5 separate regions of the Homo sapiens genome follow, and all the other regions are linked to region 2. Evidence: promoter capture Hi-C in 16 types of primary human blood cells and fetal thymus (Javierre and others, 2016). All regions are on one chromosome and are shown on one strand. Each heading gives the region's core, a stretch centred on a gene start or on the middle of the fragment in contact. The rest is flanking DNA. Distances are from core to core; before and after follow the strand shown. Region 1 overlaps MGAT3 (beta-1,4-mannosyl-glycoprotein 4-beta-N-acetylglucosaminyltransferase). Region 2 holds the start of TNRC6B-DT (TNRC6B divergent transcript). Region 3 overlaps MIEF1 (mitochondrial elongation factor 1). Region 4 holds the start of TAB1 (TGF-beta activated kinase 1 (MAP3K7) binding protein 1). Region 5 holds the start of MGAT3-AS1 (MGAT3 antisense RNA 1).

What was found. Contacts are between HindIII fragments. The CHiCAGO score rates a contact against its expected background, and 5 or more counts as called.
Region 1: a fragment that was not itself captured here is called in contact with the fragment with the promoter of TNRC6B-DT in region 2 in 11 of 17 cell types (activated CD4 T cells, total CD4 T cells, naive CD4 T cells and 8 more); the score reaches 8.6 in activated CD4 T cells.
Region 3: a fragment that was not itself captured here is called in contact with the fragment with the promoter of TNRC6B-DT in region 2 in 2 of 17 cell types (activated CD4 T cells and total CD8 T cells); the score reaches 5.8 in activated CD4 T cells.
Region 4: the fragment with the promoter of TAB1 here is called in contact with the fragment with the promoter of TNRC6B-DT in region 2 in 6 of 17 cell types (total B cells, naive CD4 T cells, fetal thymus and 3 more); the score reaches 9.9 in total B cells.
Region 5: a contact is called between the fragment with the promoter of MGAT3-AS1 here and the fragment with the promoter of TNRC6B-DT in region 2, in 6 of 17 cell types (M2 macrophages, total B cells, M1 macrophages and 3 more). The highest score is 6.0, in M2 macrophages.

Annotation. Positions count from the first base shown.
Region 1 is chr22:39,490,764-39,495,943 of GRCh38, forward strand. MGAT3 (beta-1,4-mannosyl-glycoprotein 4-beta-N-acetylglucosaminyltransferase) reads left to right here. Exons shown (of 2, transcript NM_002409.5): 2 at 1-1,431. Among named protein-coding and RNA genes, the nearest start is that of MIEF1, 8.9 kb to the right of the region's middle. RefSeq lists silencers at 4,859-4,918, 5,009-5,108. The HindIII fragment of the contact is 8,247 bases long and covers 1-5,180 here.
Region 2 is chr22:40,043,262-40,048,699 of GRCh38, forward strand. TNRC6B-DT (TNRC6B divergent transcript) reads right to left here and starts at 1,269. Exons shown (of 1, transcript NR_163486.1): 1 at 1-1,269. It overlaps FAM83F (family with sequence similarity 83 member F), which reads left to right. Exons shown (of 5, transcript NM_138435.4): 5 at 1-273. It also overlaps a transcript of TNRC6B not described here. RefSeq lists enhancers at 264-911, 993-1,292, 1,603-1,722 and silencers at 2,023-2,242, 2,253-2,322, 3,609-3,827. The HindIII fragment of the contact is 12,286 bases long and covers 1-5,438 here.
Region 3 is chr22:39,508,967-39,514,425 of GRCh38, forward strand. It overlaps MIEF1 (mitochondrial elongation factor 1), which reads left to right. Exons shown (of 6, transcript NM_019008.6): 3 at 2,322-2,472; 4 at 2,883-3,060; 5 at 3,266-3,528; 6 at 4,551-5,459. The coding sequence starts at 2,329. The coding sequence ends at 5,357. Among named protein-coding and RNA genes, the nearest start is that of MIURF, 7.5 kb to the left of the region's middle. RefSeq lists an enhancer at 1,610-2,135. The HindIII fragment of the contact is 6,684 bases long and covers 730-5,459 here.
Region 4 is chr22:39,396,985-39,402,270 of GRCh38, forward strand. TAB1 (TGF-beta activated kinase 1 (MAP3K7) binding protein 1) reads left to right here and starts at 2,796. Exons shown (of 11, transcript NM_006116.3): 1 at 2,796-2,851. The coding sequence starts at 2,819. RefSeq lists an enhancer at 2,735-2,854 and a silencer at 3,015-3,154. The HindIII fragment of the contact is 4,460 bases long and covers 910-5,286 here.
Region 5 is chr22:39,473,739-39,479,294 of GRCh38, forward strand. MGAT3-AS1 (MGAT3 antisense RNA 1) reads right to left here and starts at 3,084. Exons shown (of 2, transcript NR_126469.1): 1 at 2,720-3,084; 2 at 2,069-2,201. The region is part of intron 1 of MGAT3 (beta-1,4-mannosyl-glycoprotein 4-beta-N-acetylglucosaminyltransferase); the gene reads left to right. RefSeq lists enhancers at 141-1,070, 4,708-5,209. The HindIII fragment of the contact is 5,409 bases long and covers 1,422-5,556 here.

The sequences.
Region 1 (5,180 bases), core at 2,213-4,712, 550 kb before region 2:
GTCTGTATTGCTGTGTCCCTGTAAATACATGCTTGTGTATGGATGGAAGAGGCCAGGCCCAGGCCTGGCCTCTTCCTCGGGCCTGTGGCCACACCTCCTGCAGCTCCCCAAAATGACTGAGGCAGAAAGCCCTTGGGGAGCCTAGAAAGCAAAGCTAAAGGGGATGCAGGGTCTGTCTGTCTGTCTGTCTTTCAGTCTGAGGAATGAGAATCCTGACCTGAGGGCTGTGCAGCTGAGAGCCCACTACCTCCCCAGCCCCTCTCGGCCCCAGCCGCATCATCCCACCTGTCCCCTCCCCCCCACCTCCAGTGGGGCTTTCTCCAGATGTCTTATGGTTGGGGGTTTCCTGATGGGCCAGGAGAGGAGGGCATCTTCTTGCGACAGCACTGTCTGGGTTAAGTGCCCAGTGAGGGCATGGTGTGGGGAGCTGGCCTCAGAGGAGCCGCTGGTGGGCAAGCGTGAAGTGGGCTGAGGGGCTCTGAGCCACTTTGCTCCCATCTAGGGGACTGCCCCCCATGGAACTCCTTTGAAGTCACAGCAGCCTTCCTTTCTGTTTGCTCTTGGGGCTGAGAGGTGGCTCAAACACTCGGGGTCCCTATGGCTCTGGGTCAATCTAGGCCAGGCTGCACCCCATGGACAGGGAGTCTCAGGGCTCCTGATCATGCCCAGGCCCTGGCCTGGGGCCTCCCTCCTTGGCAGCTTTCCCACCCCCACGCCCCTGGCATCCTCAGTTGCTATGGGATGCCCCTCCAGGGCACCAGCTCAGGGCTAAGCGAAGGAAGATAGGAGCAGCTCAGAGCTGCCAGGCTCTGCCTTCCTCACAGACCTGGTGGGGCAGGTCCTGTTCACAGCAGCAGGAGTGAAGGCCTGGCCATCGGTGGAGAGGGCAGCTGTCAGAGGGCTGGGGGCCAGGGCACAGGATTGAAGAGTTTCACATATCATCACAGCATACACTGGGAATTTGGTGGGGGCAGAAGAACCCAGGGCCACTCCCTCAATATGAAGGGAAACCAAGCTGAATGTGACCACCGGCACACTGCTGCCATGTCCCATGTCCACCTTTCTCCCCGGGAATAACTGGCCCTGAGACCCCTAGACCCAAGGAGGCCTGTCCATGCCAAGCATCCGGGAAGCATGGCTGGCCTTATCCACCCATGGGTCACGTCGGTTCCCAGGGGCAGCATGGGAGATCTTTGGGGGCAACAGGGAGAGTCTGGGTGGGGAGACGGGACTTGTCCAAGCAGAAGGCAGGACCCTGGGAAATGCATAATGTAAGGACATCAATAATAGTATTATTTTTTTTGTAAGGGAAAATCAATATGTACATTCTGAAATCATTTTCTCTGTAAATGGTTGGATTTCATTTCACCCTTAAAGGGATGCTTAAAGGAGAAGATAATATTAATAATAAAAACAGCTACAAAGTCTGAATTGTGTGCATGTGTGGCCGGTTTGTGGGTGCTCTGGGGCAGGGAGGGGTGGGAACAGGTGGCTCTGGTCTTGCTAAAGACACCCTTACTTCTGGATCCATGGGGTGCAAGAACTTCCCAAGGACTGGATGGCCAGTGGGGAGAGGGGGCTGCAGGGAGCACCTTCACTTAGGGATGACGTGTCCCCCAGCCGCAGGTGGAAGCAGCTGGGAAGTGGAGGATGCTGGGCTGAGGTCTGGTGGAAGGAAGCAGAAGTGAACCAGGCTCCTAGGACCAGGGGCACCCACCCTCCTGCAGGTGGGCAGGGACCCTTTTGGGGATCTGGATGAAGGCTTTGGTGCCTCTGCAGAGAGGGGGTGGTTCTACAATTCTGCTCTGGGGCATCAAAATAAGTGCTCCTGCCTCAGTAGTTTTTCCTGTCAGGTTCTAAATGCCTCATCCAAGGTCACAGCCTTGTAGATTCTGGACCTGGACTCTCAGCACCGGACTCTCTGGACTCCCAGGAGCAGGTATCTCCCTCCCATGTAGCCAACCTTGAACTTGTGCTTGGACAGCACCTGGAGCCTTGGGATGTCAGGGCTTCCAAGGAGCTTCCTCTGGGCCGGGTGGGCACTGGAGTTGTCCTGGGGGTCCCCTGTGTGTGTCCTAAAGACAGTCTCAGGCGGTGGGAACAGACACTTTTTTTTTTTTTTGAGACAGAGTCTCACTCTGTTGCCCAGGCTAGAGCGCAGTGGCGCGATCTCAGCTCCTGCAATCTCCACCTCCTGGGTTCAAGCGATTCTCCTGTCTCCAAGCGATTCTCCTGTGTCAGCCTCCTGAGTAGCTGGGATTACAGGCATGTGCCACCAGGCCTGGCTAATTTCTCTATGTTTAGTAGAGACGGGGTTTCACCATGTTGGTCAGGCTGGTCTCGAACTCCTGACCTCGTGATCCGCCCACCTCAGCCTCCCAGAGTGCTGGGATTACAGGCGTGAGCCACCGCGCCCGGCTGAACAGACACCTTTTGAGCTCTGCCATGGTCCCCTGTTGGGTGGCTGTGCAACCTCCATGTTAGATGGAGAGACGGAGGCCCAGAGATGGAAGGAGGTGTGACCACAGTCCTGGTGGCCAAAGCAAGGGCTCATGTTTTCTGACCACTCGCAAAGTGTCACGCATGCATCAGTCTGACACCTGCGGGCTGGGACTGCTTGGACTTCTGGCCACACTCACAAAGCCCAGAAAGGTACCTGCTGCAGGTACTTGGAGTGGGGATGGGGTGAGGGTTGAATTCCACAGGGTTGAGGAAGTGGAGAAGATGTAGACACCCTACCTAGCCAGAAGAGGGCATTATTGACCCACATGCCGTTTAAGATCAAGTTAACAACCCTCAAATCATGTCCTATGGTGAATCATCATCATCATCATCATCATCATCATCATCATCAGTATTTACAGACATTATTGATTAAGTGCCTATTTTGTGCCAAACTCTGAGCTAAAAGACATCCCTCCCCATTATACCCATTTTCCACGTCTGTAAAAGGACCCCACAGCACCTGTGAAGTCTGCTGCTAAAAATGAACCACCTGGATCGAATCCCAAGGAAACAGTACACAAACCGGAACTGAGAGACAATCTGCAACAGACTAGCTTCTCTCATATGAATGCATTTCTTGCAATTCTGTTTATCTGAAGTGTTTGCAGAAAAGCCCAACCCCGCATCAGTTTCACCAACCACTTTCCAAATTCCTATCCTGGAATTTGGATGGCCAAGAGCTTCTAGAGGCAAAACATCAACAGTGACTCAAATGTTTGTCATGGTGGCCTCCACATGTAGCCTGGTTTTCCCACTCATCCCAGCTGACCAACGTGTGTGAGCCCAGCTGAGACCAGAAAAACTGCCTAGTCAAGTCCAGCCTAAATACTGATCCAGTCTCATGAGCCCAATTGCTGCTAAGTTTCTTGGTTTCTTACACAGCTTAATTGTGGCCATAGATAACTGGTACAGTTTGCTTTCATTTAATGACAACCTAAACTAGTGAGGCAAACTAGAAAAACCAACCCAAACCAGTGAGGCAGGCAAGGAATTTACTGGTTTACTAATGGTAAAGTTCAGGGGTAATGTCGGCTTCGGGTACAGTCACATTGTCATCCAGCTCTCTTGTGGCTGAGCACAGCTCCACTTCCTAACTTGCATTGTCCCAAGTCTCAGACAGGTTTACCCCTCATGCCTGCAAGACGGCTGCAGCAGCTTCAGGCTTCACCATCTCAGCTTTACGCTCAGCACAACAGAAATAGAGCTCCTCTCTCTCAGAGTCCTGGGTGTGGATCTCACTGACTTGATTTAGGTCACGTGAATATCCCTGAATGCATCAGTGAGACTGGAGGGGCTTGGGATGGAATCTGCCAATTCACGTAGATCAATCAGAGCCCTGTGTCTACTGGCTGAGGAAAAGGGAAGGTGGTTCTCCAAAAGAAATCTGGGGCCCAGATGGTACCTTTGGCACAGCCTCAGCTGCCTCCAACAGGCCTTTCACCAGCCACCAGCCCTTGGTCACCTCCCTCTCCTGGGTCCTCATCTGTAACACAGGACCGTCATAGGACAGACCTCCAGCGGTGATTGTGAGGATGCTCAGAGCTTGGAGCAGAGCCTGGAGCATGGTGAGAGCTCCATGAGCGTGAGCACTCAGCATCGTGGCCCCATTTGCACCTTCCATCTCCTTGCATGTGATGCGTGGGTCATGCCTCCTTTCCTGGGTCTGCTTCCCTTAGCCTCTGTGACTCATCTGTCTCGTGGCTCTCCTCTTCCTCCTCCCTCTATGACATTTCTTCCTGGTTGTCTTCCTGGTTCCTTTTTCCCCACGCACCCCTTCAATAAGGGGGCTCCCCAGGGCTTGGCCCTGGATCCACTCTCTACCTGCAGTTCTCAGTGCTTACCAACGTGGAGCTGGATCCATCTCTCCAGGGAGTCCTCTTTCCTAAGGACCCAGCCCATGAAGCCCGCTGCCTGCTGCACGAAGCCCCCAGGTGTCAATGTCACCTCAAATACCATGTGGCCTAAATGGAACTCGGCTTCCTATAAAAATCTGAGCCCATAAATTCCTTTGTTTGTTTGTTTGTTTGTTTGAGATGGAGTCTCACTCTGTCACCCAGGCTGGAGTGCAGCGGCATGATCTTGGCTCATTGCAACCTCTGCCTCCCGGGTTCAAGTGATTCTCCTGCCTCAGCCTCCTAAGTAGTTGGGATTACAGGTGCCCGCTACCAAGCCCGGCTAATTTGTGTATTTTTAGTAGAGACGGGGTTTTACCATGTTGGCCAGGCTGGTCTTGAACTCCTGACCTCAGGTGATCCACCCACCATGGCCTCCCAAAGTGCTGCGATTACAGTTGTGAGCCACCCTGCCCAGCCAAATTCCTTTTTTAAAAAGACACCACCAGAGGGCAGCAGGTATTCTCTGGCCCAAACTTCCTCCTCTGCAAGGCCTTGCCTACAGGGTAGGTTGCCCCCCAGTTATTGGCCCAACCTGGCCCAGACTTGGCACTGCTATTAACTGTCACATGGGACCCCCTATGGTGTAATTAGAACCTGCTACCTGTCCTGCCAGGCTGCCTTCTGAAGACCCAGCATGCCTCACAGCAGGCCCTGGTTAGAGCACTGGGCCTTCTAGAAGGCCACACGGGACAAGGCCAGGCCCTCATCCACATGAGTGTCCACAAAGTATTCAAAGGTAACAACCTAAACCGGGCTCGGTGGATCATGCCTGTAATCCCA
Region 2 (5,438 bases), core at 19-2,518:
TAATTACCCAAGATGGAATGTGGGCTAGAGTCCAGCGTTGTGCTCCTGGAGATCATTTCGGTCGCAAAAGCTCACTGGCAATGGGTCCTAAGCGTCCTGCCCTCCTCTGGCTGAAATGTTGGATTCACTTCGATGAATGCTGCTATAGGGAAAGAACCCAGTGGCCACCAGCCAGGAGCACACGTCTTGCTCAGCATCAACTATCCTGGAAGATTTCCAGGAGCTGAAGGGCTGTTCTCTTTGCATGCAATAAATTATTCATTTCTAAGACGATTTATTCTGTCTCTCTCTTTAGACTTGATTTCTCCTAGTTTTCCAGCTCTTGAGGACTCTCTCCAAAGAATGAGTTGTAGATGGTTGGTCAGGGGTTGCGAGTGGTGCCTAGGCTTCGCATAAAAGGAGGCAGAAATGTCTACCTTAAAGGGGAGAGGAATGGGTCCTGGGGAGGAAGATGTGGTGGAGGCAATGACAACCTTTCCATAGTAAGTCCCCAACAAAGTCACTTCTAGAAACTGACTGAAGACTTTGAGTTCCAAATGAAACGTTTTTAAGATGCTAGGTTGGCTGACAAGTACATCGTCTAAGGTGGAGGCACTAAAGCATAATAAAAAGAGTGAAGTCTCTGCAGTTTGACCCAGGACCAGATGCCAGGCCCACCAACGACTCTGTATCTGGATGACCTTGGGCAAGTTTTCTAAGCTCTCGCCAGCCTTAATTTCCCATCTATAAAAACTGGATACTGCATTACTCCCAGGTTTAACCAGATAATGTTTGTGAAGAAAGCAGCCCAATACTTGGCACAAAATAGGCAAGGGAGTCACTATTATCGTCAACTACTGGCCAAACAACCAGAGTTGACCCCAAATCCCCAGTAAACAATTAACCGTAGCAGAGCGAATCCGGATCTGACGCACCTATTTGCCCAATAAGGTGCCAGGAAATAACACAGTGGAGTCAAACCAATGGTATTAGCCCTTGTTGATGGACGGGCTTTCTTGCTGTTCCACCAATAGCTTGAAGATTTGACTGGGGAGTGACATCCTGACAGTCCAATGACGCACAACCAGCCCACACTCAGCACTTCGGAGGGGATAAATCAAGGAGCCGGCACGTATGGATTCCGTTATAGGGCAGTACTGGTTGGAGAGAGGAGCTTAGGGAAACAGCGCCGAGGCAAGGCACTAATGAGCTAAAAATAAAGAAAAAAGACGATGGTTGCGCCAAGCGACCTCGGCCGCCATCATGCTCTAATTTCCCCTGAGTCTCTCTGGGTCCTCGACCGAGGAAGCGGCCTCTGGGATGCTGAGGGGGTGTGTCCCCACATGATTGGCTCAGGCAGCTCAGCCAATCCTAGCTCGTTAAACGGGAAGCACTTAACCAATGAGGGGCGAAGGCAGCAACGAGGAATTGGAGGGGCGGAACGACAGCTTGACGGGCACAAAAGCCAGCCAGTGAGAGCCGGAAGCATCCTCCCTGCGGCCAATGGAGTGGGGCTCTGGGCGGGCCCCCGAGTGTTTGTGTTGTGGTTTTGGGGGAGGGATGCGGAGGGGAAAGTTTGTTTATTTTGTTTTTAGTTTTTGGGGTCCCCGTGCTGCTGCAAGGCGAAACGGGAGGGAGTGACCCCTGCGCCCCTCAGTCCCCCCTACGACGTCGCCTCCATAGTCTGCGGAGAAGCGGAGACTGCGCGCCTCGCCTCACAGCGAAACGCCGCGCACTCGGAGCCGGCACGGCTCGGCGGTGAGTGAGGTGCGGCGGCCGCGCCGTCCTTCCCCTCCCCCGCGCCCCGCCGGGACGGAGCGGGGCGGCCGGGGGTCGGCGAGGGCGCCCCCGGGGGCGCGCGGCGCGGCCCGGGGCGGTGAGCGGAGGCGCGGCGTGTGCGTGTCCTCGCGAGGGAGCGCGCGTGGGGCGGGGAGCGGGCCGGGGAGGGGGCGTGAGCGCGCGCGGGGCTGGTGCGGCCGGCGGCGCTGAGCGCGCGCTCCGCGGGAGCGGGCGCCGCCGAGATTTGAGTCGAGGGGCGGGGAGGGACTCGGGGCGACGTCCGGCGCGCGGGCCGGGGCGCCCCGAACGGCCGGGCAGGCACTGGCGGGCGCGCGCGCGGCTCCGGGCGTCACGCGCCAGCAGGTGTGAGCTGGGGGAGGGCTTCCGGGTGGGCTGGCCCGGCCGTCGAGTTCGCTTCCCGTCTCCGGGGGGCCTCGGCGCGGGGACACCTTCCCGGCCCGCGGAGGCGCGTCCGCCCCTGGCTGGCGGTGGCAGAGGGAGGCGTCAGGCCTCGGATCCTCGGGTCCCTGCGCAGCGTCCCGGCCTGTGTGCAGGACCTGCGTGACAAGGTGAATGCGTTCCACACCCCTCGCCAGGGCCCTGCGTGTGCGGCCACTTGGGGAGGCGGCTCAGACTCTGGACAAGGAAACGAGGGGCACGGAGAGTGTTTTTACACCTTCCCGTGGTCCGGTGCCCTTCAGTTCCAGACTACCGGTTTATTCGGCTGTAGAGGCTGGACATCCGATCCAGCGAGACACGCTGTAGTGGTTAAAGACGTCCAGTAACGGTCACCTCTAGTCAAGCGCCTTAAGGACCAGCTTATTCTGAATTCTTTGGAATTCAGGTTACCAGCCTGGGACTTTAAGTTCGTGCTTTCTCATGTGTTTTGGCTGTTTTATTACTTTTTAGCATCAGTGCTAGAGATTGAACGAGAGGATGGTGAATTTCAAGTTGGTCATTTGTATTATAATTTAAGCAAAATTATACAAAATTGGTCAAAGATATTTCTTCATAGTGAATAAAACAAGCCAAGAATCAGTGAATGAAACATTAGTGCCCCCACCAACAGTTAAGTATATATATAAAGTGTGTAGAAATGATAGACATTAGCATTTTGTGAAAGTTTACTAATAGAGGTTACTTCTCTCTTCGCTGTGGGAGATTTCAGTAGTATAAGGTTTCTCTTGATTTGGAGAATCATCAGTGATCTTGGCTTCGAAAGTACAGATGTGTTTTGGGTAGTGTTGTGTAAATGCCTCTTATAGAGCGGAACTTTTAGCGCATTGTCTCTACAGCGCGCAGCATTGCTGTAGGCAGGTAGTGGGAGGGCTGTGTAGTGCCCACTTGCACGAAGGCACACTCACCAATATCCAGAATACAAATCAGACTGGCTTGTCCCACGTGGGACGTGGTGATGATGATAATAATACTTTTATATTTTCTTAGTTCTTTACTATTATTAAGGGCTTATCCCAAACACCATTATTTGAGCAGAGTGGTTTCTGATAGGAATTCCGTAGCTGCTTTTCTGTGGTAACATATAAATGTCATGCCCTTGAAAAAGATTTCCCTCATTCAAATGGAAGCACTTAAATTTTTTTTTTTTTTTTTGAGACAGAGTCTCAATTTTTTTTTTTTTTTTTGAGACAGAGTCTCAAAGATTGTGCCAGGCTGGAGTGTAGTGGCACAATCTCGGCTCACTGCAAGCTCCGCCTCCCGGGTTCACACCATTCTCCTGCCTCAGCCTCCCGAGTAGCTGGGACTACAGGCGCCCGCCACCACGCCCGGCTAATTTTTTTGTATTTTTAGTAGAGACGGCGTTTCACCATGTTAGCCAGGATGGTCTCGATCTCCTGACTTCATGATCCGCCCGCCTCGGCCTCCCAAAGTGCTGGGATTACAGGCGTGAGCCACCGCGCCCGGCCTTAAAAATGTTTTCAAGTCGGAGCAATACCACTTGTTGAAATGGCAGTAATAATATTAGCTAACATTTATTGTATGCTTACTCTATGCCAGCCTTTTGACATCTTTTCCCCTAATTCTTAGCCCAAGCCTGTGGGGTAGGTATCGTTACTATACTATGAATGAGAAAAGGGATCTCCAGGAGCCACACAGCTATGCAGTTCCAGGGCATAGGTTTAGTCTCAACGTCTGTCTGGTTTGAGAGCCTACGCGTGTTTCATTTTGCCTCCTCCTTGAATTATCAGAGGGAGAAAGGGCACTGAAAAGTAGAGAGGAATAGAAAAGGAGAATACCACTGATGATTAGGTTGCCCATACCTAACTTAAGAATTTAAATTAGGCTGGGCGCGATGGCTCACGCCTGTAATCCCAGCACTTTGGGAGACCGAGGCAGGTGGATCACTTGAGGTCAGGAGTTGGAGACCAGCGTGGCCAACATGGTGAAACCCCGTCTCTACTAAAAATACAAAAAATTAGCCGGGCGTGGTGGTGGGCGCCTGTAATCCCAGCTACTTAGGAAACCGAGGCAGGAGAATCGCTTGAACCCGGGAGGCGGAGGTTGCAGTGAGCCGAGATTGTGCCATTGCACTCCAATCTGGGCAACAAGAGCGAAATTCAGTCTCCAAGAAAAAAAAAAAGTTTACATTAAGCTCATTCTTGGCTTTTAGAAATTAATAACATTTTTGCAAAAGTACATCTTATTTCTTCCCTGTTTAATTTTTATAAAGATTGTAAAAATACATTTTAGCTCAAGAGTTCAAGGCTTTCAGAGCCCTTTGTGCAGATTGCTGCTCCAGTCCCGGGCTATTGTGTATTGTGATAAATTGTGTGCTCTTCCAGGGACTGTTACTCATTTTTCTATCCAGCACAGTGCTTGGCACATAGTGGGAACACAGAAAACGTTAGTTGACTGACATTTGATTCTAAGGAGCAGAATCAAAGTGTAGATTTCGGATTCATTTTAGTCGTTGAATTGTGCAGTTTTAGTTTAACAGGACAATAAGAAAATGACTAGTTCATGTGCAAAATGCGCGTTTTGAAAAAATACTTAAATGGAGCAACTCATGGGGTCTTGGAAAATTCTGTCAGTTTGCTGGATCTCTCCGTTCTACTATCATGTTTGAGCTTCTGTTCCTCTCACTTCCAGAGTTCTGAAAGAGCAGTCTATGCTGGCTGCTTCCCTTTCTTCACGTCTTCACTACACAGTCATTCTTTAAACTTTTGCAGCCAGATTGTTCCAAGGTTGCCAATTACCTAGTGGGTAAATTTCCCACATTGGCCGGGCGTGGTGGCTCACGCCTGTAATACCAGCACTTTTGGGAGGCCGAGTCAGGTGGATCACGAGGTCAGGAGATCAAGACCATTCTGGCCAATATGGTGAAACCCCGTCTCTACTAAAAATACAAAAAAATTAGCCGGGTGTGGCGGCGCATGCCTGTAGTCCCAGTTACTCGGGAGCCTGACGCAGGAGAATTGCTTGAACCAAGGAGGCGGAGGCTGCAGTGACCTGAGATCGCGCCACTGCACTCCAGCCTGGGCAACAGAGCGAGGCTCCGTCTCAAAAAAAAAAAAAAAAAAATTTCCAAAACTCTCTCTTCAGGTTTCATCCTTTTCTGTCTCCCTGCAGCAGTCAATCCTTTTTGACAATTCCTATCCATTTAAACATTTTTTTAAAAATAACATACAGTAATATTGACTTTTTATGTGTGTTTACAGTTC
Region 3 (5,459 bases), core at 2,822-5,321, 530 kb before region 2:
TATTTTACATGGAAGATAATCCTCAGTGATCCTTTTTTTTTTTTCTTCAAGACGGAGTCTTGCTCTGTCACCCAGGCTGGAGTGCAATGGTGATTCTCCTGCCTTGGCCTCCCGAGTAGCTGGGATTACAGGCATGCACCATCATGCCTGGCTAATTTTTTGTATTTTTAGTAGAGATGGGGTTTCACTATGTTGGCCAGGCTGGTCTTGAACTTCCGACCTCGTGATCCACCCACCTTGGCCTCCCAAAGTGCTGGGATTACAGGTGTGAGCCACCGCGCCCGGCTGATCCTGTCTCTTGATGTCCTCCCATTCTGGGACGCTAAATGGTATCCGACTTTGTTTTCCCTTATGTCATTCCTGGTGTGAAGGACACGGGATATTATAGAGGAGAGTGGCAGCATGCTGAGTGGTATTCCGATCTGAATCACACTGTCATCCTTTATCCGGCTCAGGCCCAGGGTTCTAACTCCACAGGAATGGGCTTATCTGGGGACTGCTGCTGCTGCAGTCAGGAAGACTCCACTGTAGTCGGGAGCAGCACTGGCCTGAGCACTGCACTGGAGGCCAGCCTCTTCGCTGTGGTGCCCAAGTACTTCTTTCAGGTGAACACATTTTTAGTTCCTCTTCCAGGTGTAATCGAGCAGATGGGTGTTTTGTTTTCCAGTTAGCAGTCGAGTCTGCAGTGTCCTTTGTGTTTTTTATCTCCCGGTATACCAGTCTCACCTAAGCTTTTATAGTCCCCGCTGCGCACTTCTCTCAAGAAACAAAGCATTTGTCAAGTAGGAGGGTCCATGGAGGGACCTTTCTCACATATGGACGTGTAGTTTCAGTTCCGTGTGCAGGATGTTTGGTACATGTTGTTTTGTGTTTTGTTTGCAGAAAGTAGATAGAATAAGGGCCGATTTGATTTGGGTAAGGGTGAGCATGGTACAGTAGAAAAAGCGTCATACAAGGAGTGGGGAGTCCTGAGTTCTGGAGATGACTGTGTCGTTTTGTTTTCGTTTTTGAGACGGAGTTTAGCTCTTGTTACCCAGGCTAGAGTGCAATCGTGTGATCTCGGCTCACTGCAACCTCCGCCTTCCGGGTTCAAGGGATTCTCCTGTCTCAGCCTCCTGAGAAGCTGGGATTACAGGCATGCGCTGTCACATCTGGCTAATTTTATATTTTTAGTAGTGACGGGGTTTCTCCATGTTGGCCAGGCTTGTCTTGAACTCCTGATCTCAGGTGATCCGCCTGCCTCGGCCTCCCAAAGTGCTGGGATTACAGGCGTGAGTCACCGTGCCCGGCCCATTTTGTTTTTTTATTTTTATTTTTAAGAGATGGGGTCTCACTCTGTCACTGAGGCTAGAGTGCAGTGGCGTGATCATAGCTCACTGTAGCCTCAAACTCCTGGGCTCAAGCATTCCTCCTGCCTCAGCCTCCTAAGTAGATAGGACTACAGGCATGTGCCACCATGCTCAATTTATTTTTATCTTTTACTTTTGGAGATGGGGGTCTTGCCATGTTGCTCAGGTTGGTCTTGAACTTCTGGCCACAAGCGATCTTCCCACCTCAGCCTCCCGGGTAGCTAGGATTATAGGCATGAGCCACTGCGCCTGTACCATTTCTTTTCTCTGAGACCTGACACATCACCTCCCTATGTTGAGAACCTCTGTGTGAGGTGATGTGATGGCATTAGATGAGCTCCAAGGTCCCGCTCAGATCTAACCTTCCACAAAGTAGTGGCCAAAGGACGAAGAAATGACCTGCATTATAACCCCTGTGATGGGGTAGAGAGACCTGCTTTATAACCTCTGTGAAGGGGTAGAGAGACCTGCATTATAACCCCTGTGAAGGGGTAGAGACCTGCATTATAACCCCTGTGAAGGGGTAGAGACCTGCTTTATAACCCCTGTGAAGGGGTAGAGACCTGCATTATAACCCCTGTGAAGGGGTAGAGACCTGCATTATAACATTGTGAAGGGGTAGAGACCTGCATTTTAACATTGTAAAGGGGCAGAGAGAGGGCTGTTTTGCATGGTGGGGTACTTCATTGTAATACAAAAAAGGACTGACACTGAGCTTAATGCTTTCTTAATCTCACTAGCTTGGGGAAAGTTTTCCTACAATACCCAAGATCAGCCCCTCCTCCTTGCATCCTGATCTATCATGGGACATTGTAGCTCCCTCCAGACCCTAAAGCATGCAGTGCTGGAGGCAAGAAGATTTGGGTTGCTGGAACTCACAGAGTACCCTGTACTTGTTGGGGTTTGGCTTGTTAGGGGAGGGAGGTTCTTGGGGTCCCAGTACTTATGGCCGTGTTCTGTCTTCATTCTCAGATGAGCAATGGCAGGCGCTGGTGAGCGCAAAGGCAAGAAGGATGACAATGGCATTGGCACGGCCATTGACTTTGTGCTCTCCAATGCCCGGCTGGTGCTGGGGGTGGGTGGAGCGGCCATGCTGGGCATCGCCACGCTGGCAGTTAAGCGGGTAAGTGCATGCAGCCAGGGCTGGGGGTGGAATGTAGTGGTATGGTCATAAGATGTAATGTTTTATAGAAAGAAAATGTCGAAGCGTTCTAGGAGGAAATGATCGCAATGATAAGTGAAAAAAACAGGTTTCAAAAGTATGTATAGAGTGATCGTCATTACATGCATCTAGAAAGAAACATACCAGATATTACAAACAGTTTTCTCTGGGTCATGACGTGGATTATCTATGTCTTATATCATGTAGTCTTCCCTGAGATTTTCTGCGTGGAGCAAAGTATTCTATAATCTAAAATAAAAACAAAATTACTAAAAGAACTTACTAGGACAGAGCTTCTGGGGAGGAAGTAAATTGGAAGGAAATAGGGAAAGAGGGCAGGTTTATGTCCTGTGTCCTCTCTGCTATTTCAGATGTACGATCGGGCGATCAGTGCCCCTACCAGCCCCACCCGCCTGAGCCATTCGGGGAAAAGGAGCTGGGAAGAACCCAACTGGATGGGCTCCCCACGACTGCTGAACAGGGACATGAAGACGGGCCTGAGCCGGTCCTTGCAGACCCTTCCCACAGACTCCTCCACCTTCGACACAGGTGAGAAGGGCTGCTGCCCCTCCTGGGACCTCTCTGGACTTTCAGTACCACTCCTGCACTCAGCAGATGTTTCCTGAGCACATCTGTGCCAGGCACTGTGCCAGCACTTGCCCTCCATGCCAGGCCCTTCTTTCTGGGGCTGAGGCAGCTGTGGACTGAGCAGGCATGGGCAGAGCTCACGTGCCTCTCTCTCTTGCCTTGGCAGATACATTCTGCCCGCCCCGGCCCAAGCCAGTGGCCAGGAAGGGCCAGGTAGACTTGAAGAAGTCACGACTCCGCATGTCCCTGCAGGAGAAACTTCTTACTTACTACCGGAACCGGGCAGCCATCCCTGCTGGAGAGCAGGCTCGGGCCAAGCAAGCTGCTGTGGACATATGTGCCGAGCTCCGGAGCTTCCTGCGGGCCAAGTTGCCTGACATGCCGCTTCGGGACATGTACTTGAGTGGCAGCCTCTACGATGACCTGCAGGTAACAAGGTGGTTCTCATGGTGGGTGGGGTTTGAGTGCTGAGCACCATAGTGTTGTTGGCACAGATCAGTGTCCCAGGCTTGCCAGAAAGACTGAGGTCTTACAGCTTCCGAATCCTGTGTACCTCAGCAGCATTTGGAGATCCATGCTTGTTATTCTTTTTTTTTTTTGAGACGGAGTCTCACTCTGTCGCCCAGGCTGGAGTGCAGTGGTGCGATCTCGACTCACTGCAAGCTCTGCCTCCTGGGTTCAAGCGATTCTCCTGCCTCAGCCTTCCGAGTAGCTGGGATTACAGGTGTGTGCCACCACTCCTGGCTAATTTTTTTGTATTTTTAGTAGAGACGGGGTTTTGCCATGCCGGTCAGGCTGGTCTCGAATTCCTGACCTCAGGTGATCCACCCACCTCGGCCTCCCAAAATGCTGGGATTACAGGCGTGAGCCTGGCCTGTTATTCTTTATTCTTGTGTCTTTAATCGTTTCTCATGTTTTAGTCCTACTTACAACTTCTAGGAAGCTATAAGAGGCCTCCTCCTTCCTATATTCTTGTGCCCATCTCTCCTTTCTAGTTTTCTCACTCTGTGTAGATTGCATGGTGACATGAAAGAATTTTTTTTTTTTTTTTTTGAGATGGAGTCTTGTTCTGTTGCCCAGGCTGGAGTGCAGTGGCACGATCTTGGCTCACTGCAACCTCCGCCTCCTGGGTTCAAGCAATTCTCCTGTCTCAGCCTCCTGAGTAGCTGGGATTACAGGCACACGCCACAATGCCTGGCTAATTTTTTTGTATTTTTAGTAGGGGATGGGGTTTCACCATGTTGGCCAGGCTGGTCTTGAACTCCTGACCTCAAGTGAGCCAGCCGCCTCAGCTTCCCACAGTGCTGAGATTACAGGCATGGGCCACTGCGCCCGGCCTAGAGTTCCCATTCTTGCTGGGGGGGAATGTAAGATGGTGGGAACCGTCTTAGAGGAAGCATGTCTTTTGAACAGAGTAAACCCTCAAAACCCTTTAAATTCTGCCCTGACAGGTGGTGACAGCTGACCACATCCAACTCATTGTGCCCCTTGTGCTGGAGCAGAACCTGTGGTCATGTATTCCTGGTGAAGACACCATCATGAATGTCCCTGGCTTCTTCCTGGTGCGTCGTGAGAATCCAGAGTACTTTCCTCGTGGGAGCAGTTACTGGGACCGCTGTGTAGTAGGGGGCTACCTCTCTCCAAAGACAGTCGCAGATACATTTGAGAAGGTAGTGGCTGGCTCCATCAATTGGCCAGCCATAGGGTCCCTCTTGGACTATGTGATCCGCCCGGCCCCACCCCCAGAAGCCCTCACACTGGAGGTGCAGTATGAGCGTGACAAACATCTCTTCATTGACTTCCTGCCATCAGTGACCCTCGGTGACACAGTCTTGGTGGCCAAACCACACCGGCTAGCCCAGTATGACAACCTGTGGCGGCTGAGCCTGCGTCCCGCGGAGACGGCACGCCTGCGGGCTCTGGACCAGGCTGACTCGGGCTGCCGATCTCTGTGCCTCAAGATCCTCAAGGCCATATGCAAGTCCACCCCGGCTCTGGGCCACCTCACTGCCAGCCAGCTAACCAATGTCATCCTCCACTTGGCCCAGGAGGAGGCTGACTGGTCTCCGGATATGCTGGCCGACCGTTTCCTGCAGGCCTTGAGGGGACTTATCAGCTACTTAGAGGCTGGAGTCCTGCCCAGTGCCCTAAACCCCAAGGTGAACTTATTTGCAGAGCTCACCCCTGAAGAAATAGACGAATTAGGATACACTCTGTATTGCTCATTGTCTGAGCCAGAGGTGCTGCTGCAGACGTAGGGCAGGTGAAGGCCAAAGCGGGTGTTGGTGGTCAGGCCCTGGATTCTCCGTTAGATACACTTGGCTACCTAGTTGGTGCCTCACAGGGTTCCTGCTGCCTGG
Region 4 (5,286 bases), core at 1,546-4,045, 640 kb before region 2:
CCTTCAGAAGCACCTTCTGTGTTTTTGGAACTGTTGGCAGCATCCCAAGGTGAAATGGTAGAAGCATATGGCATGATCATGGGGAAATGGGTCTGGGGAAGGGAAGAGAAGCCACATATTTGGAGCAGATTCTGTTCCTGTTCTAAAGGCTTGGAAGATGTTACTTTATTGAATCCTTGTAACATCCCTGGGAGGCAGGGGTTTTAAAAACAAAGACAGTGGTGGCCGGGCGCGGTGGCTCATGCCTGTAATCCCAGCACTTTGGGAGGCCAAGCAGGGAGAATCTTTTTTTTTTTTTTTTTTTTTTTTTGAGACAGAGTCTAACTCTGTTGCTAGGCTGGAGTGCACTGGCGTGATCTCGGCTCACTGCAACCTCCGCCTCCTAGGTTCAAGCAATTCTCCTGCCTCGGCCTCCCGAGTAGCTGTGATTATAGCCACACACTGCCATGTCCATCTAATTTTTTTTTTTTTTGAGACAGAGTCTCACTCTGTCGCCCAGGCTGGAGTACGGTGGCGCGATCTTGGCTCACTGCAACCTCCGCCTCCCGGGTTCAAGCGATTCTCCTGCCTCAGCCTCCCAAGTAGCTGAGACTATAGGCACATGCCACCACACCCGGCTAATTTTTTGTATTTTTAGTAGAGACGAGGTTTCACCATGTTGGCCAAGATGGTCTTGATCTCCTGACCTCGTGATCCACCCACCTCGGCCTCCCAAAGTGCTGGGATTACAGGCATGAGCCACCGCGCCCAGCTCGGGAGGATCTTTTGAGCTCAGGCGTTTGACACCAGCCTGGGCAACATGGTGATAGCCTGTCTCTACAAGAATACAAAAATTAGCCGGGCGCAGTGGCACATGCTGTAGTCCCAGCTACCCGGGAGACTGAGGTGGGAGAATCACTTGAGCCCAGAAGCTTGAGGCTGCAATGAGCCATGATTGTGCCACCGCACTCCAGCCTGGACAACACAGTGAGAACCTGTTTTTTTTTTTTTTTTAAATGGTGGGGGTCAGGGAGAGATGGCTTGCAAATGAATGTTTGTTTAATTTTATAAAAAGCAGGCAGGTGCCAGGTGCAATGGCTCACGCCTGTAATCTCGGCACTTTGGGAGGCGAAGGCAGGTGGATCACCTGAGGTCGGGAGTTCAAGACCAGCCTGACCAACATGGAGAAACCCCATCGCTACTAAAAATACAAAATTAGCCAGACGTGGTGGCGCATGCCTGTAATCCCAGCTACTTGGGAGGTTGAGGCAGGAGAATCGCTTGAACCTGGGAGTCAAACATCTCTCTACCAATGGGACCCTGTCAATGGCTTGCTTAGAAGGCAACAACTTCCCTCTGTCCTCCAGATGAATAAACTCCTGCCTGGGGCCCACTTGGTCAGAGCCTGTCCCTACAACCCCTTCATCTCTCTCCTCCAACTCTGTGCAAGCCACAGTGGGCTCCCGTGACAAGTGTGCTTTTTTTTTTTTTTTTTTTAAGACAGAGTCTCACTCTGTTGCCCAGGTTGGAGTGCAGTGGAGTGATCTCAGCTCACTCACTGCAACCTCCACCTCCCAGGTTCGTGATTCTCCTGCTTCAGCCTCCCAAGTAGCTGGGATTACAGGCGTGCACCACCATGCCTGGCTAATTTTTTGTAGTTTTAGTAGAGATGGGGTTTCACCATGTTGGCTGGACTGATCTCGAACTCCTGACCTCAGGTGATCCACCGGCCTCGGCCTCCCAAAGTGCTGGGATTACAGGCATGAGCCACCGCGCCTGCCCCCGGCAGAATGTCTTATATACATAAATGTTGTCCTCTCCAATTAAAATGTTAACATTTTAGGTTGGGCGGGGTGGCTCACACTTGTAATCCCAGCACTTTGGGAGGCCCAGGCAGAAGAATCGTTTTAGGCCAGGAGTTTGAGACCAGCCTGGCCAACATAGCGGTACTCCGTCTCTACAAAAAATGTAAAAGATTAGCTGGGCGTGGTGGCGGGCGCCTGTAACCCCAGCTACTCGGGAGGCTGAGGCAGGAGAATCGCTTCAACCCGGGAGGCAGAGGTTGCAGTGAGTCCAGATCACGCCACTGCATTCCAGCCTGGGCGACAGAGCAAGCCTCCGTCTCAAAAATAACATAACATAACATAACATAAAATAATAATAAAATGAAATGAAATAAAATAAAATAAAATGTTAGCTTTTTGAAGGCCTGTCCTGCTCGCTGCAGAACCCACTATAGAGCCAAGCAGGGTCACCTAGGTAGCATTTGCTGAGTGAATGAATTGTCCTCCCCTTACCAACTGTGTTCACAAAGAACCCTCAGGAGTTCAAGACCAGCCTGGCCAACATGGCGAAACCCCGTTTCTACTAAAAATACAAAAATTAGCCGGGCGTGGTGGCTCATGCCTGTAGTCCCGGCTACTCCGGAGGCTGGGGCAGGAGAGGCGGGCACCTGTAATCCCAGCTACTCGGGAAGCTGAGGAAGGAGAATCGCTTGAGGCCGGAAGGCAGAGGTTGCAGGGAGCTGTGATCGCGCCACTGCACTCCAGCCTGGGTGACAGAGTGAGACCCTATCTCAAAAAATAATAAAGATGGGCGAGGAGCAATCGGCCCCGAGGAAAAGACAAAACAAAACAACAACAACAACAACAACAACAAAACGTGCAAGAGCGCGCCTGCGCACACGGTCCGCTACGACCCCCATCCCTCTTCGGGCGTGGGGTGGCGCTGGGCGCATGCTCCCCGGCAGCGCGGTCATCCTCGCCTCCTTCGGGCCGCTCTAGCCGCCCCACTCGCTGCTCTGCGGGGAGGCGGGCGCTCCCGCAGGGGTTCCTCCAAGATGGCGGCGCAGAGGAGGAGCTTGCTGCAGAGTGTGAGGAACAGGCCCGCTCTCTGGGCTTGGGGTTGGGAGCCTGGGCGGGGGTGCTGTCGGGTGCAGGAACGGCTCCTTCTCCGAGTTTGGACAGCCACCCTCTCCGTGGTGGGGTGTGTCAGCCACCTTCTCCTCTCCTCGGGCTGGCCCCCTCGTTCCCGAGGCCAGGGCGTGTGTGCGCGGCGGGCCCGGCCCCCGGGTCAAGGGCGCCGGGGCTGTGGGCTGCTGCTGCCGGGCGTCGAGGGCGGGAGCGTCCTGGAGCCAGAAGGGAACACGGCGGGCGGCAGCAGAGCTATCCGAGTCTCGAGCCCACTGCGACACCGAGCAGACGTGCAATGATAATAACAGCAGCATCCACAGTGTACCGCTTACTGCATCCCCGGCGTTGTGTTAATTGCTTTACATTTGTCAGTTTCATTTTCGTAGCAGCCCCCTGAGATAGGTGCTACTGTTATTCCTATTTGACAGACTGAGACACTGAGGTGGTCGTTTGCCTAAGGCCACACAAATGGTACGTATTGAGGCAGGATTAAAATCAGGCAGTGTGATTCCAGAAACCCCCTTAACCCCTGGGCTGTACTAAAGGAATGACCAGTGGTAGCTGTCACTGGGTTCTGGTCCTGGCTCTGACTGTGTCTCCCTCAGCCTCAGTTTCCTTCTCCTAAGGCGAGAGCGCTGAGTGGAAGAATTGTCTTCAGACTCATCCCTACCCCCGGTCTGGACCCTCATGGGTTTGGCGCTGTCTTCCAGGCCCTGCGTCCTCTGACGCGTATGTGCACATAGATGCACACACATGTTGGCACCATGGACTACTCTGACCTACCAGGGTAGGGTGCTGGCCTCCTGGGTCCTTCCTATGCATGGCACTGTTAGAATTGTCTATGGACTTGTCTGCCTCCTGTACTAGAAAGTAAACTCCGCCGGGCGCGGTGGCTCATGCCTGTAATCCCAGAACTATGGGAGGCTGAGGCGGGTGGATCACGAGGTCAGGAGATCAAGACCATCCTGGCCAACATGGTGAAACCCCGTCTTTACTAAAAATACAAAAATTAGCCGAGCGTGGTGGGGGCGCCTGTAGTCCCAACTATTCGGGAGGCTGAGGCAGGAGAATTAGCTTGAACACAGGAGGCGGAGCTTGCAGCGAGCCAAGATCGGGCCACTGCACTCCAGCCTGGAGCGACAGAGCGAGACTGTGTCTCAAAAAAAAAAAAAAAAAAAAAACGAAAGTAAACTCCTTGAGGACAGGGACCTGTGATCTCTTGTTTACCGCTGTGTCTCTATTATCTATCACCATGTGCTGGGCACTCAATAAATACATTTGTGAAAGGATGAGTAAAGGTTTGTAGCCAGGTCCAGTGCTCGCCCTTGGCGTCACAGAGGTGAGTAGACATTGGCTCAGGGATAACCTGGAACCAGAGCCTTGAAATTATTCTCCCAGGAGCACAGTTCCCAGGCCTCCCCAGTGGGGATTGCTGTCTTCCCCTCCACACCTTTACTACTCCTTTATTTTATTACTGCTGGGCACGTCTGTCTTGTTACCGAGTTGGCATTGATTTTAGACGGCTGGCCCTCTGCTTTGTAAGTTCCCAGAGGGCAAGGTCCCTGTATAACTGTCCCCACTCTAGTTAGCATTTGGGAAACGCTGGTTGGATTGTGACATTGGGAGGGAAAATTGTAAATGGTGCAGGCTGAGTTGGCTTGCTGAGAAGAGAGCAGCCACCTGGGTCATGTAGAGTAGGTGGCTGCCAGCTTCTCCCCTTCCTAGATGTGATGGAACCAAAGGGAATTGTGTTAGGCAGAAGGCCAGCTCTACTAGCCCCAGAATGTGTTTCTCCAGGTGGTGGTGGCCTTTTTTAAAGCAAGAATAGTTAGCTTTAAACACATTGCATCTTGGTGCGTGGCAAAGGGATGGCAGGGATGTCATCAGAAGGCCCCTCCGCCCTCATGATGATCAGGACATCCCTCTCACAGGTTGTATGGATGTCCAGGTGGTGTGTAGGGCTTGCTGATGTCACATCCACTGTCTCAAGTCTGGGGAGAACAACTCAGCTCAGACACCTGCATTCAGAGATGGCTGTGAGGGCTGCTGGTCTGTGGCTACTGGGCAAATATGAATGAGGCGTGGTGCCCACCCTCACTGCGTTTGTAGATCAGCTTGGGAGGAGCATATGCCACTGATACAATACCTGGGGCACTGTCTTGTTATTGTAGACCTGTGTCAAGAGCCCTGGGCAGACAGCAGAGAATTTTAGAGGCTTTAAAGGATGAGAGGAGTTTGCCAAGCAGAGGAGAGGAGGGCCATTCCAGGAGGATGTGTATGTGTGTTTTCTTGACACGTGTGTTTTTGTTTTCATTTTTCTTCCTAGAGATGGGGTTTCGCCATGTTGCCCAGGCTGGTCTAGAATCCTGGGTTCAAGCAATCCTCCTGCCTTCGC
Region 5 (5,556 bases), core at 1,834-4,333, 570 kb before region 2:
GGCATGGGACCCCTCGCTTGCTTGTCTCCAAGTTCCGGGTGATCGGGGCTAGGGGAAAATAATGGGGGTGGGGGGATGGAAGTTAAGGGGAGGAGGGGGGATGGATGAGGAGGGCAGCCTGGATGGAGGTGTGTGGGCAGGGGGCAGATGGATGTGGAGTGCCAGCTCCAGGGTAGATCAGGGCAAGGTTCTGCAGTGTGGGTCAGGATCCAGGGCCTCCGGAGCCTCCTGGAGTCTGGGCCTCACCTTGGAGTTTTCCTGACTTTTTGGACCTTGAGCCTCCTTTAAGCTGCAGGAGACCCAGACACGGCGCACTGTCCAGGGTGACCCGTTCCTGTTGGAGTTGGGTAGTGGTGGGAAGGGCTGCCCTGGGTACCCTTGGCCTTGCAGGGAACTCTGGGCTCTGGGAAACATAATTTCAGCCTGGCCTTGCAGTGTGCCACCGGGGTGCTCACATGGTTTCAGGCTGGTGAGGGGCTTAGGAGGTTGGCAGGATGGGCAGATGCAGCTTTCCTGGGCAGCGAATCCGATCATCTACCAGAGCTGGAGAGCCCTGTGACCTGAAAATGGCAGGCCCATGGGGTCCTGATGGCAGTGGGGGTGAGAGGGACCCTTGCCTTGGGCAAGGCTGAAGGCAGCAGCCTGGACTTTGCCCCTGAAACTCTGAGAAGCCCCAAGGCCGCAGGTGGGTGTGGACTCTGCTGCTGTCACTTGCCAGCTGCGAGTTTGAGGCCCTGTGTGCCTGTGGGGGTGGAATGAAGCGAGGCCAGTAGTGCTACAGTCTTCACATCACCCCCAACCCTCTCACAGCCCCAAGCACCTTCCCTGCACACTGGCCCAGCCCTCACGGGCTCCCACTGCCTCCTGGCTCTGCACACAGCAGGTCTGTGGTCATGTGTGGCCCTGCAGAGGGGACCCTTTTCCTCTCCCTGAGAGATAAAGAGCCCTGTGCCTGAAATGCCACCAGCAGTACTCATTCCTCTGGCTAATCCCAAACATTCACTGAATATTTGCTCTGGGTGCTTCGGGCAGGAGCCACTGCTCACTTCTGGCCTGGCCTGTTCCCCCAGGCCAAGTTTACATCTCTCCATTCCAGGCTTTGTGTGTAAGAGGCAGTCAGAGCCCTCGGGCCCTCCTGAAATGTGCATATGCACCACTAGCCCCGGCTGGGACATCCGCCCTCTGCTCCCTGATAAGGTCCCTCTCTGCCTGGACTGGGGACTGAGGATCCGAGATGGAAAAGCCCCAGCCCAGCGCCCCTGCCTTCCTGGAGTCAGAGAGGCCTGGGTTCTGCTTGTGGTGCGGCCTTCACCAATCACCCCCTCCTCAGGGCCTCCATCTCCCTGCTGGTGTGGAGTGAGGGATGAATTCACAGCAGGGCTTGCCAGGCTTTTTTTTTTTTTTTTTTTTTTAACTGTAGAAGCTTTCCTTCCAACAAAATCTTGCGAGGAGCTCAGTGTCTGAAATTGAAAAGCTGGGAGCATCTTCTTGATTGTGTTTTTTGGGGGCGAGTCCCTGGGCTTTGTTTTCTCTCCCCCTTCACTCCACCTCTCTCTCAGGTCCTGGGGCACCTGGAGGGGAGTTCCAGGGACCTGGCTGGGAAAGAGCTGTCCTCAGTGCCCATGGGACCAGTCCATGGGATGTGTCTGTACATCTGTGTATCGGGCCCTGAGGCCCACCTTTAGCCCACCTCCCCTCCCGAGGTCTCCTTCTGCCAATCACCTGCCTAATGCCCCTGCACCCTGGTGTCAGGCAGCCCCCCAGAGCTGCATCCCTCCCTCCTGTAGTTAACCAATGCTCTATGAGCCTCTCTCAGCCAAGACCTTGGCATCAGCTCACCACTGCCCCGCCCCTGGCCCTCCCCTTCATCACGGGCCGTCTCTCAGGCTTGGCGCCCTGGGATGCTCCCTTGCTCCAGCTCTGTGACTGTCCCCATGAGGGTCCTCCCTCAGTGCAGCCCCATCTCTCCAGCGGTGCTGGCACGATGGACCCGGTTGACTCCCTGCCTCCTGCCCTCTCCGTTCAGTCTAAACTGCACAGTCTAACGTAGGAACCACTAGAGCATGCAGCTATTAAAATTCAAATTAAATTAAGCTGGGTATGGTGGTGTGAGACTTGTCCCAACTACTCACGAGGCTGAGATGGGAGGATTGCTTGAGTCCAGGAATTCACATACAGCCTGGGTAACATAGGTCTCGTCTCTAAAAAACAAAAACAAAAACATTATGGAATGAGCCTCTGGGGATGAGGAGCTGATGTCCTGAATGGACCAGTGACCAGTGCAGGAGGGGTGGAGTCCTAGCAGGGGTAGATCCCAGCTTTGGGAACCAACTTTCCCAGGCACTTGCCGGCCACTCCGTGGGAAAGTCCTCAGGCAGCCTGCAGGGAGCTGGGATCAGCTGATGGGGATGGGTTTGGAGGGGAGAGAGTGGTGCACAGGGACTGGAGGTGGGGGAGGGGTGGGGTTGCCATGGAAAGGGCTCTTGGGATGGGTCTTGGGCTGAGCCTTTGGCAAGGCCTCCACCCTGGAGCTGAGCCAGCAGAGAGTGGGGCTGACTCCATGAGGCCCAGACTCTCGTGGGTATTCTGGTGGCCTGGGCACCCTGTCTTTCCTGAACCCTGCCTGCCTAATCTAAGAACTGCTCCCCTTGTAGCTCTGTCTCTCCTCTGTTGGCCTAGTTTCTTCATCCATGGGTGGGCACAGCAGAAGCTGTCTCACCTGCTCCATGGTGAACGGGATTTGCAAGGATTTGACTCTGGCCATCCAGGGAAGATGGAGTCTTTGACCAGGCCTGGCCCCTGAAGCAGACTTCTTCCTTCTGAGCCTGCTGGGGAAGCAGAATTCCTCGATGCTGGGTGTCATGGTCTACCAGGCCCTCCCTCGCCCAGGCCACTTGTGTTGAGCCTGGAGCAGAACCCCCAGATCTGTAGTCCGCCTGTCAGCTTGGGGAGTCTCCGTTTCCGTCTGTTTCATTCCCATCAGCTGTGTGTGGCTGAGCAAGTCACTTAACCTCTTGAGGCCTCCATGTCCTCATCTGCAAAATGGAGACACACATATCTGCGTCCCCGATGACCACCAGTAGCTGGGATGATACGTCGACTGCAGAGTGACCACTTTGTGTAGGCGTCCCTGTGGATGGTTGTCAGTCAAAGGAGTGAGTCAGATGATGAGAGGGGAGGACAGCAGAGCAGCAGTTGTTTCTTCAGTCTCGCCGGGACTCCAGGATCGGCCATGTTCTGCAGCCACCGCCTCTACCTGTCTCCCCATGTGGGATCCTGAAACCTCAAGCTGCATTTAGTTTCAGAGTCCGGGGAGGTGCTCACTGTCTTCTGACTCCTGAGATGCCGACTCCCTCTGCCATACCCCAGGGAAGGAACCAGTAGCAGAAGCTCCAGGGAAACTGATGAAGGTCAACAGAAGGAAGAACTTCTAGCAGCCCAAAGGGATTGGAATGGGCGGCCCGTGGGAGTGGACATGCAGAGGCACTGGCCTGGGGTGAAGCCTTGGACCAAATTCTTACTTGCAGGCCCTCTGGACCCAGGAGAGGAGTCTGCAGGCCTCGGCTGGGCCGGATTCCGCAGATTCTGGCCTAGGTCCTGAATGCCTGGTGAGTTACTGAGAAAGGCCCTACAGGCTGAGGGTGCCAGTCAGGGTGAAGCAGCCCCGCAATTGGCCCACCTCCTTTTGTACCTTAACAAAGGTGTCTTTGTTACCTTTCTTAAAGGAAATAAAGCCGGTCAGGAGCAAGGCCTGGCATATTCAGGGGGTCATCTGTATTTGGTCGTCCAGCGGGAAACCCAAATGGAAGGAAAGAAAAAAAAAAAAAACCATGCATTTATAGAACCTCTGCCAATGGCCAGGCTCCATGCAGAATGCTTTGACACCGTGGCTCAGCCAGGTCTCCCACAGGACTGCAAAACAGAGGGTGACATCTTTCTTTTAGATCGGAGAAGACTGAGGACCAGAGAAGCTAAGTAACTTGCCAAAGGGCACACAGCAAGTAAGTCATGGCACTGGGATTCAAACCAAATCCTCCAGACTTCCAGTAACAGTGGAGCCGGCGTGTCCTGAGCATCTGTTGTGTGCTTAGGCATGGTCCCTAGCTTTTTGCGGGGATTAACTCACTCAACTCTCACAACAACCCTGTGAGACAGAAACGGTTATACCTCCGTATCGTGGAGGGGGAAACTGAGGCACGGGGAGGCAGAGTGACTTGCCAAGGCCACAAGCAGTGTTCGGATCTGGCCATTGTGGCCACTGGCCTACCTTGTGCCCCAGGAGCTGCTGTACATGGCAGGGATTGCTGCAAAGATGTGCCTCCTGCCTTCTTTTTGGAGGTGGCAGAGCCCTTAGGTCACATGGGGCAGGACCAGGCCGGGTGGAAGGTGAGCACAGGGAGACGGGCTTCAGCGCGAAGCCCTTTCGTACAGTTGAACTAACTCCTGGAGAGGTAGTGCGGGTCCACCCCAAGGTGTACCAGGGCTGGGGGCAGTGGATGGGCTACTTCCTGCCCAGAAGTAGAGACTGAGGTTGTTTCTGGCATCCTCCAAAATGCCCCTCATGGACATTACAGGGATGCCCTGAGTGCCCACTGGGTGTTGGGCCTGCTTTACTGCTGGACATGTGACAGCTGGCCCCTTCTCCCAGTTGGAGGAGTGCCCAGTGGCTGTCCCCCAGCTGAAGACGCCAGACATCAGGTGTTGAGGGGCAGGCGGAGAAGGGGCCAGAGGGTGGTGGACAGGGGAACCGGCTGTTAAGACATGAGCCGTCTGAACCACGGAGGTGGGTGGCAGGGGCCAGGGTGAGGCCAGCCAAGGGCACCCTGGGGACTGAGCTAGGACTCTGGCCAGCACGGGCAAGCTCAGGACCACGGAGAGCTCCACAGGAGCCGCCCTTCACCAAGCGACAGCTGTCAGTGTGAGTCTGCACCTGGGAGGCTGCTACCTGCCTGGCCAGCTCCCACCATCACAGCCAGTGGCCTCCAGAGAGCACCTCCCTTCTCCCTGGCCAGAAGCCCCTGGCTGGGCTCCACCTGAGTCCTGACTATGAGGTCATGGCTGGGTCATGGAGTTTGGGCTCATCAGCTTCCCTCCCTCACAGCCCGTCAGGCTTCCAAGCAGAGCTAGAGAAAAATGGCACAAGAAGTGGGAAGAGGGAGGGAAAGAAGGAAATCTGTCCAGCTCAGACCCTCCAGGCCATGGCCACTGCCTGAGGCCTGCCTGCTGCCATCCTGGGTCAGCCTCAGCCTCCCTCTTCCAGGATCACCTGGCTGCCAGGAAGCACCTGGCCCATGCTCTACCACCTATCCCAACAGACCCAGGACCGGCCAGAGGCGGTGGCCCACGCTTGCAATCCCAACACTGGGGGGCCGAGGTATCACTTGAGCCCAGGAGGTCGAGACCAGCTTGGCAATGTAGGGAGACCTCCTCTCTACAAAAAAATGTTTAAAAAATCAGCCGAGTGGTGGCACACACCTGTAGTCCCAGCTACTTAGGAGGCTGAGGTGGGAGGATCACTTGAACCCAGGAGTTTGTGGCTGCAGTGAACCTTGACCA